2 separate regions of the Homo sapiens genome follow, and region 2 is linked to region 1. Evidence: promoter capture Hi-C in 16 types of primary human blood cells and fetal thymus (Javierre and others, 2016). All regions are on one chromosome and are shown on one strand. The core of a region is centred on a gene start or on the middle of the fragment in contact, and the rest is flanking DNA. Distances in the headings are between cores, read along the strand shown. Region 1 holds the start of ERCC6L2 (ERCC excision repair 6 like 2). Region 2 holds the start of TDRD7 (tudor domain containing 7).

Evidence for each region. The method cuts DNA at HindIII sites, captures the fragments that hold promoters and counts their contacts. A CHiCAGO score of 5 or more calls a contact.
Region 2: a contact is called between a fragment that was not itself captured here and the fragment with the promoter of ERCC6L2 in region 1, in 1 of 17 cell types (total B cells). The highest score is 7.7, in total B cells.

Annotation. Positions count from the first base shown.
Region 1 is chr9:95,874,003-95,878,095 of GRCh38, reverse strand. It overlaps ERCC6L2 (ERCC excision repair 6 like 2), which reads right to left and starts at 2,405. Exons shown (of 19, transcript NM_020207.7): 1 at 2,012-2,405. The coding sequence starts at 2,057. It overlaps ERCC6L2-AS1 (ERCC6L2 antisense RNA 1), which reads left to right and starts at 2,119. Exons shown (of 3, transcript NR_023390.1): 1 at 2,119-2,231. RefSeq lists enhancers at 2,195-2,254, 2,315-2,544, 1,676-2,550, 2,685-2,784, 2,825-2,874 and 1 more. The HindIII fragment of the contact is 4,005 bases long and covers 515-4,093 here.
Region 2 is chr9:97,411,933-97,415,523 of GRCh38, reverse strand. It overlaps TDRD7 (tudor domain containing 7), which reads right to left and starts at 3,428. Exons shown (of 17, transcript NM_014290.3): 1 at 3,286-3,428. RefSeq lists enhancers at 2,582-2,841, 2,446-2,945, 2,946-3,447 and silencers at 2,783-3,077, 3,162-3,371, 3,392-3,591. The HindIII fragment of the contact is 157 bases long and covers 1,174-1,330 here.

The DNA of each region.
Region 1 (4,093 bases), core at 1,156-3,655:
TTTCCCTAAATTATGCCTAACCAGTCTCTCTGCTCCCAGTCCACCTATTTAGCGTAGGGTACCCATTATTCTCTATCTCATCATTTTATTGCCTCTGTAGCACTTATCATAACATTTAATTATCATGTCCACTGGTTTTTTGTCTTTTCCTTCCAGTAGAGAGTAATTTCCTTTCCAAGAAAAGTTTGTACTGTTATAAATTTTATCCCCAGGACCAACACAGAGTCACACAGCAGACATTCAGTGAACATGCGAATTTATTACACATTCTTTTTTTTTTCTTTTTTTTTTTAGACAAGAGTGTCTCTGTCGCCCAGTCTGGAGTGTCATGGCACAATTATAGCTCACTGTAAACTCCAACTCCTGAGCTCAGCCATCCTCCCGCCTCAGCCTCCTGAGTAGCTGGGACTACAGGTGTGCACCACCATGCCTGGCTAAATTTTTTATTTTTAGTAGAGACAGGGTCTCGCTTATGTTGTCCAGGCTGGCCTCAAACTATCCTCCCGCCTAAGCTTCCCCAAAGTACTGGGATTACAGGTGTGAGCCATGCGCCTGGCCTATTACAAATTATCAATCTCACAAATCCTTGATATCTTGCGAGAAAACTAAAAAGTACACCAACATATACATAACTGTAAAAACTGCATTGGAAGAAGAGTGCTATGAGAAGGGAGTATTGAGAAATGTAATTTAAAAGGGAAAGGGGTCTAAGAACTGTATCTCAGATAAGTGTACAGCATGTGCAAAAAAAAAAAAGCCTTAAGGGAATCACACAACTTATTGGAGTATTTTGGGTTTGAGTTCGGATAATTTCTAGGACGAAATAAATTCAGTTGAGTTAGAAATGGAATCTCTCAGTATCCAAACTACAGAACAACTGCTTAAATTGTTAAGATTTCCTGTTGGATTTAACAGGGAAATGGGTTAAGTGTCCTAAAATTTAATGAGTCGAAATCATTTGTTTTGGTTTAAACTAATTACCAACTCAACTCATTCTGGTGATAGGGTCTCTCTCTCCCTCTTTCACTCCAAAGGCCTCCTCAAGCATTCCTCAAGGGTGTTCCCACCTCGGGGCCCTGGAGCTTTCTGCTCCTTCCACCAATTTCCCTAAATACCAAGAGTGACTAGATTTATCAAAAGGAATGAGCCTCCCAGTCACAATATCCACTCGGCAGCTTCATCTATTTTTAGCTGCCAGTCTCCTATAGGTATTTATATGTTTGGTCCCTGAATTACAGCGTCATCAATTCCTAGACCTCAGAATTCAGGCTTGTAACTTGCCCTCTCTGAACTTTAGCTCTGAATTCATCTATTTAATGAGATCGATATCTTCCTCAAAGGAAAGCAAGTAAACAATCAGCATATTGCTGGGCTCAGGAAAATCACTCAATACCTGGTAGCTTTTGTTATACAGCACAATTATTAATGAAAACTACTCATTTGGGTGCCAGAAGGCATCCCAGGTGACTTGTGGTAGATAATCACACCTTCTTTAAACCTCCTATTTAAGGCAGAATATAATGCCCTGACTCAATAGGCAATAAAACTCAACTGAACTAAATATCTCAACCTTCATTTATCTACTTACAACAAACTTCTGCCATTCACTAACAACTGGGGCATACAAGAATAAAGAATGAAAATAACATTTACTGAGTGCTTAATATGGGCCACACGCGGGGTCACATAAATACTTTGCGTATTCCCCACGTCATTTAATAATCGCAAGAACCTAGTAATGAACCCAGTTTTACAGATGAGGAGCCTGCCCAAAGTTGCTCAGCAAGTAACTGTCAGAGGCAGCACTAGATCCCAGGGGCTGACTCCCGAGTCCAGGTTCTCAACACTGAATCGGAGATTTGGTTCCAGGCCTGGAGGGGTTCACAATCTGCAGCTGTCACTGAAGAGGATCTACAGGGCAAAACCCCAACCCGAAGGGCACCGGCAAGAACTGGTCCAACGCGACGCAGTACACAGGCCTCTGCGTAAGGGGCGAGCGCGGAGCTGGTACCTTTGCCTGAGGTTTCCGCGCGGGGCTGTGGCGCCGACGGATCCATCCGGCCAGGGGGAGGGGCCGAGCCCGGCTGCATGTAACACCCGGAAGGCGGCGGAGGACAGCAAGGTGGCTGGCCGGCAGGCCAATGGCGGCCAACGCCACTTCCGGCCGCCCTCCGAGCATCGCTCTTCGGCAACCCGAAGCCACAGGATGGAGGAGGGGGATCCCAGCAAAGGTAGCGACTAAGGGGACCCAAGCAGAACGGGAGGGCGACGTCCGGAGCGGCGGCAGAGCCAGGGGACGCTGTGTGAGGCTGGCAAAGCGGTGTTCACCTAGTTCTCTCGGGCTCCGCCGCCGCCGGAGGAGGACAGGAGGCCGGCAAGGCGACCCCCAAATCTTCCTAGGCTCTGACTTCCGTCTCCTAACCCCCGCAAATTCCAACCCGGTCTTGGAAAATCCCGCGAGAACGGGCTCCCGAATTGTCATTGGGATCTCGCGAGAACGAAATCTTCCTTTCTGTGGGCGGAGCAATCTTCCCGATGTCTCTTCCCTCTGAGGCCAGTAGCAGGAAGGGCCTCGGGAGTTGCGAGTGTCGCGAGGTTTGAGGTCGCTCGGTGGGCCGGGCGCTGTGCGAAGCTAGAAATAACTGGGGGCATGGAGAATGCGGTGGCTGTAAAGGGCCGCTGAGGCGGTGGAGGCCTGGCAGAGAGCGTCCCCGCGGTCGCGGCTTCTGGCTTCTCTGTGGAGCTTGGTTCTTCCGTGGTGGTGCAGCACCCCAGGAACTTCAGGAACCAGTCCTTCCTTGGAGAGCTCCCCGGGACAGCCACGGGGGCCAAGTGAAACTAGCGCGTTTTCTTGGATCCTACACTTTATAGTGAGTCATAAATACTTTAAATACAAAGCCAACAACATTTGCTGCAAATAAACGTAAAAATACTGTTAAAGTGTAAAGTGTTTTCCTCCGTACCATCTGACGTTTCTGGCGGTTCGTTGAACGCGAGAGAACGCTGAGCCGTCTGCACTGAGCCCGGGAGCATCTTCAGGGCAGCGCCGCCCACGCGCGAGGTGAATGAAGGACACGGCCTCTTGACACTCCCAGGCAGCACAGATAGACGGATCCGTAAGTGGCTCCCGCGCATGTTAAAATTTGTATACTGTAAGGTATTTCATGGATTGAGTGAAATACCTGACAGGGCCTGTATCCGTTCCCTATTGCCACAATAACCAAAAACCACAAACTTTGTAGCTTGAAACAGCACAAATTTATCATCTGACAGACAATGCATTTATTATCTCACGGTTCTGTAGATCAGAAGTGCTACCTGGGTGTCACCCGGGCTGCACTCCTTTCTGGTGACTCCACAGGACAATCCTTAGCTTGCCTTTGCCAGCTTCTGTCCACATTCCTTGGCTTTGGTCCCTTCCTCCATCTTCAAAGCCAGTGATATGCCATCTCTCTGAACCTTCCATCCTCAAGTCTACCGCTGATTGCAGCTGGAAAAGATTCTGAGGGCTCACCTGAGTAATCCAGGATCATCTTCCCATTTCCAGGTCTCTGCCCTTGATCACATCAGCAGAATCCTTTTGCCATGTAAGCTAATATATTCACGAATTCCGGAAATTAGGAGATAAACATCTTTGGGGGATCATTATTCTGCCTACAGTAGTGTCTTAAGAAAACAATATGGCTGTTTGCAAATAGATCTCAATTCTATGGCAGATACTAAAAACTAGTAGTATGTGTTCATAAAATGCTTCATTTAAAATATGACTTGTTTGCTTACCAGCAGGCAATAACTTTAAGCCTAAGTGAAACATCTAACTCAGCCATCTATGTGTGAGTTGTTGGCCAGATCACTTCTCCGTGTTTTATTGTACTCACCTATCACCATTACAGTGAAGCTAATAATAGTAAACTACCTAAAAATGGTAATTGTAAAAAATTAGATAATTAAGTAAAACTCCTAAAACAGTAGCTGGTCATAGTAAGGAATATATGTGTTGTTATTACTATTATTATCAATGGAATGCATCCACTTGAAAGTTGCATTCTACATAGCCATTATGTCAGTTTAATATTTTGGCTAATAGGCCGGG
Region 2 (3,591 bases), core at 3-2,502, 1.5 Mb before region 1:
AGTGGCCTAAAATAATTCTCACTCTACTTCAAAACTGCATTTTGTAAATTCACAGCTTTTCTCTTTACTATACCTGAAAATGGCCCAAGGAAGTCCTATTCTGAAGAACCTGGTTTTGGTGTATCCCAGATAAACGCCTTCTACCATTGATTGATCCTCCCTGGCTCAGTCATTTGCATGTTATCTGCTTCCTCTAACTACTGGTGTCAAAGGCCTTTAGCTGAGCTAGTCTGGCTTCCATCCTATGCCTTCTCTTTTCTAAGTTTCTTCTTGCTCAACTATTTCCAACTGTATGATTTGGCTCATCTTCCTTACTACATTTTTCATGTCATCAGTTTAAGTTGTCGAGTGGCACTAAATCTTAAAACAAATCAGAAGAATTATTAGGGTAAACTGAAAACACCAAGTAATCTCTCTTAGCTTCTTTTAGTTAGATGTTCAATTTTGAAGTATCTGGATATCTCTTTAGGGCATATACTTCTAATAACTAACTGCCCTTCTCCTTGAAGACACTATTTTAGCAACAGCGGGAACTTAAAGTCCCATAATGTCTGTGCTGACACATTTTAGGCATCGTCTAGGCTAACCCAAGCTCCTTATCTTACAAATCAATAAACTGAGCCTCAGAGGGAAAATTTTTTCCTAAGATCTTTACCCAATAAATGATTTCTCACCTTGCGACACTTTTAAATGCTCTTTTCTTTCTAATCATAGTCTGTTACCACTTCAATTACTCCTTCACCAACCGGTTTTTAAAGGAAAAAGATGATTAATACCCTCAGATGATGGTATACTTCCTTAAGAGTTTTTTTCAGGGAGTTATCTTTTTTATTCTTGTGATCTCAAGTTCCAAATTATTCGTGCATTTTAACTGCATACCACGAATGTACGTAAGTAAGGGATTTCCATAAGTCTACATACTAGACGAAAAAACCCTGAGATAATAAAGTGGCTTAGTAAGGAGTTTGTGTCTTAATCCTAGTTCCGCTACTGATTACCTGTGACAAGTCACTTCAGGTCTCTTTTTTTCACAAGGAAGATAAGAAAGGTGGGCAAGAGCCATGATTCTCAACTTTCCTTGGATTCACTGAAGGCTGAAATAAGGTCCAAATATGTAATGAAAACCGAGTTTGCTTACTCATGACAAAGCTGCACAGGCTAAAATGCCAAGCTTACTTTGAAGTCACACTGGGTAGCTTGCACTGATCAAGTTCTGATTGGCATATATACATGTCTTCAACTAAAAATTGCAAAATTAATTACTTTTAGTTTGAAAGACAAAACTGTAAACATATTTGGCTTACAGGGAAATAATGACAAGAATGAAGCTTTCAAAAGTACAGAGGTGGGAGTGGAGGGAGGAAAAAGCAGGTTTGGCACAAAGAAACAACAGTTCACGTAAATATAAAATTTCACCAAGGAACTTCTGTGAAAGTGTCCAGATGCAAAGCACTCTATGTCAAATCTCAATTCTTGAAAACAGCACTTGACAAACACAAATTAGGCACTCGGGGTTGGATTATATTTTTTCTTTATATTCACATTAAGTATCCAGCTAGATTATATTGCACAGAGAACTTAAAAGAGGGGTTCTGCAAGGAGTTTAAAATCTCTTGATGCACAATACAATAGTTCATTCAGCCATGTTCAACCTGTACACTTAAAAGGGCATTAGCAGGGGATTACACTTCATTTTCAATCTACAGAGACTGAAATCTGAAGGCACTGCCAACTGCTGCCTCACAGTCTCACCGTGCAACTACCAAAGACGGAGGCTGTGTGCCACCAAAGGGCCCTGGATTGGGGCACAGGAGATGTGAGTGCTAATCCAGCTGGCCCCAGGGGCAATTCCCTATACCCAGAACAGTACTTTGCACGTAACTGATGCTCAATGAATGTCAGCTGAGAGGAAATGCAAAAATATCCACCATGTGCCCATTTATATTATATAGTAAACACAAAGATCTTTGTGTCCCTGCCCTCAAAAAACTAAAATCCAATTATGTAAAACATGGACCGTTTGTTGGGAGGAAGAGAGTGAATACTGCTTGGCAATTATTATGAGGCAAAGGATATACAGTGGTTATCTTGGAAAAGCCTTGCAAAGTAAGCCAGGTACCTCTATTTGACACATAGAAAACCAGGCTAAGAGAAAGCATGTAATTTGTTCAAGATCACACAATTTGTAAAATGAGAAGCCCAGATTTCAATCCAGGTCTGCAAAGTTCACATTATTTGCAGTATGCAACACATTCATACACATCAAGGCAGCCCAGGACGAGACAGGGATTTGGGTCCAAGTTTTACTTCTGCTATTAAGCTGTTGCCTATCTCTCTAGAGAGAACATTTCTCTGCATTTTTTTCACCGGCACGATTGGAGAGCAGAGAGGTGTTGGTAGGAGGGTTAATGAACTAGATCTGTGGTTTTTTGGTTTGGTTTGGTTTGGATGGGCGGTGATCAGAATTCTTCTGGGCCAGGACTTGTTCTAATGTGGTTGTTTCCCTTCCCTGCTCTTAGAAATTATTTGAGAATGGTACCTTTAGCTATTAATGGAAATATACCTCTCAAGTGAATGGGAGCAGAAAGATATGCCGGCTCCAAGCTCCCTCCTAGCAAGCTGAAGCTGAGAGTCTGACCCTGCTGAGGGGATGCTACTGAAAGTTGAGAGACAACTTACTCACGGATCCATGTTTCCCTCCCAGCTGGGTGCTCTGTACCCACTGGGTGCTCCTCGTTTGAGAGAAATGGGGATGTGTGTCCTGCATTACTTAAGCGGCCTGCCTGGGGCTCGTCTCCAGATTATAGAGACCTTCAAGAGAAGTTCGTGGTGTAAAATACTTGGGTTCAAATAGGGGAGCGCGGACATCCCTCGCTGGGGGCGGCGGCTGCGGCCTGTCGCGCCGGTAGCGGGAACCACTTCCTGGTCCGCATCTCCCGCCCGCGTCCACACCCCGCTGCTGCATTTCCCCCACGGCGCAGAGCTTCCGAGGCGGCAGGAGGCTCCGTCCGACTCCCGCGTGAACGCCCGGCCCGGAGCAGGGTCCCTTCAGAGATTTAAAACACAACGCTCTGGAACTCCAACTCCCCCGGCGCCCAGCCCGGTTCCCAGGCGTCGGGGCGGGGGCAATCCCCTGCGGCTGCAGGGAAAAGGCCCCGAGCCTGTTGGAGCCCCCGGCCCTGGCCGCGGTCCCACCGGTGACCCAGGTGCGCCGCGCCCGCCCGAAATCTCGTCCGACGTCGCCCGGCACCTGTCGCGCCCGGAGCCCGCAGGACCTGCACTCACCTCGTTCCGGGGGCCCACGGCCCGTCCCCGCGTCTCTGGGCCCAGCTCCTGCCGCCGTCTCCGCCAGGGGCCCCGCCGCGGCCGCCGCCCACTTTCGGTTTCCCCGCACCACCGGAGCCGCCCCGCGGCTTGGGAATCACCTCAAGCCCCCGCCCCGCCCTGCTCGGCCCCGCCCCGCTTCGCCCCGCCCCGCTTCGAGGGCAGCCTGGCCTCGGCTCTGCGCACGCGCGGGCGCTCCGGCCGCGTCGGCCCACGCCGGCGTCCGCGCGTGGGAAGGGAAACCGTCGCCACCTAGCGGTTTCTGCG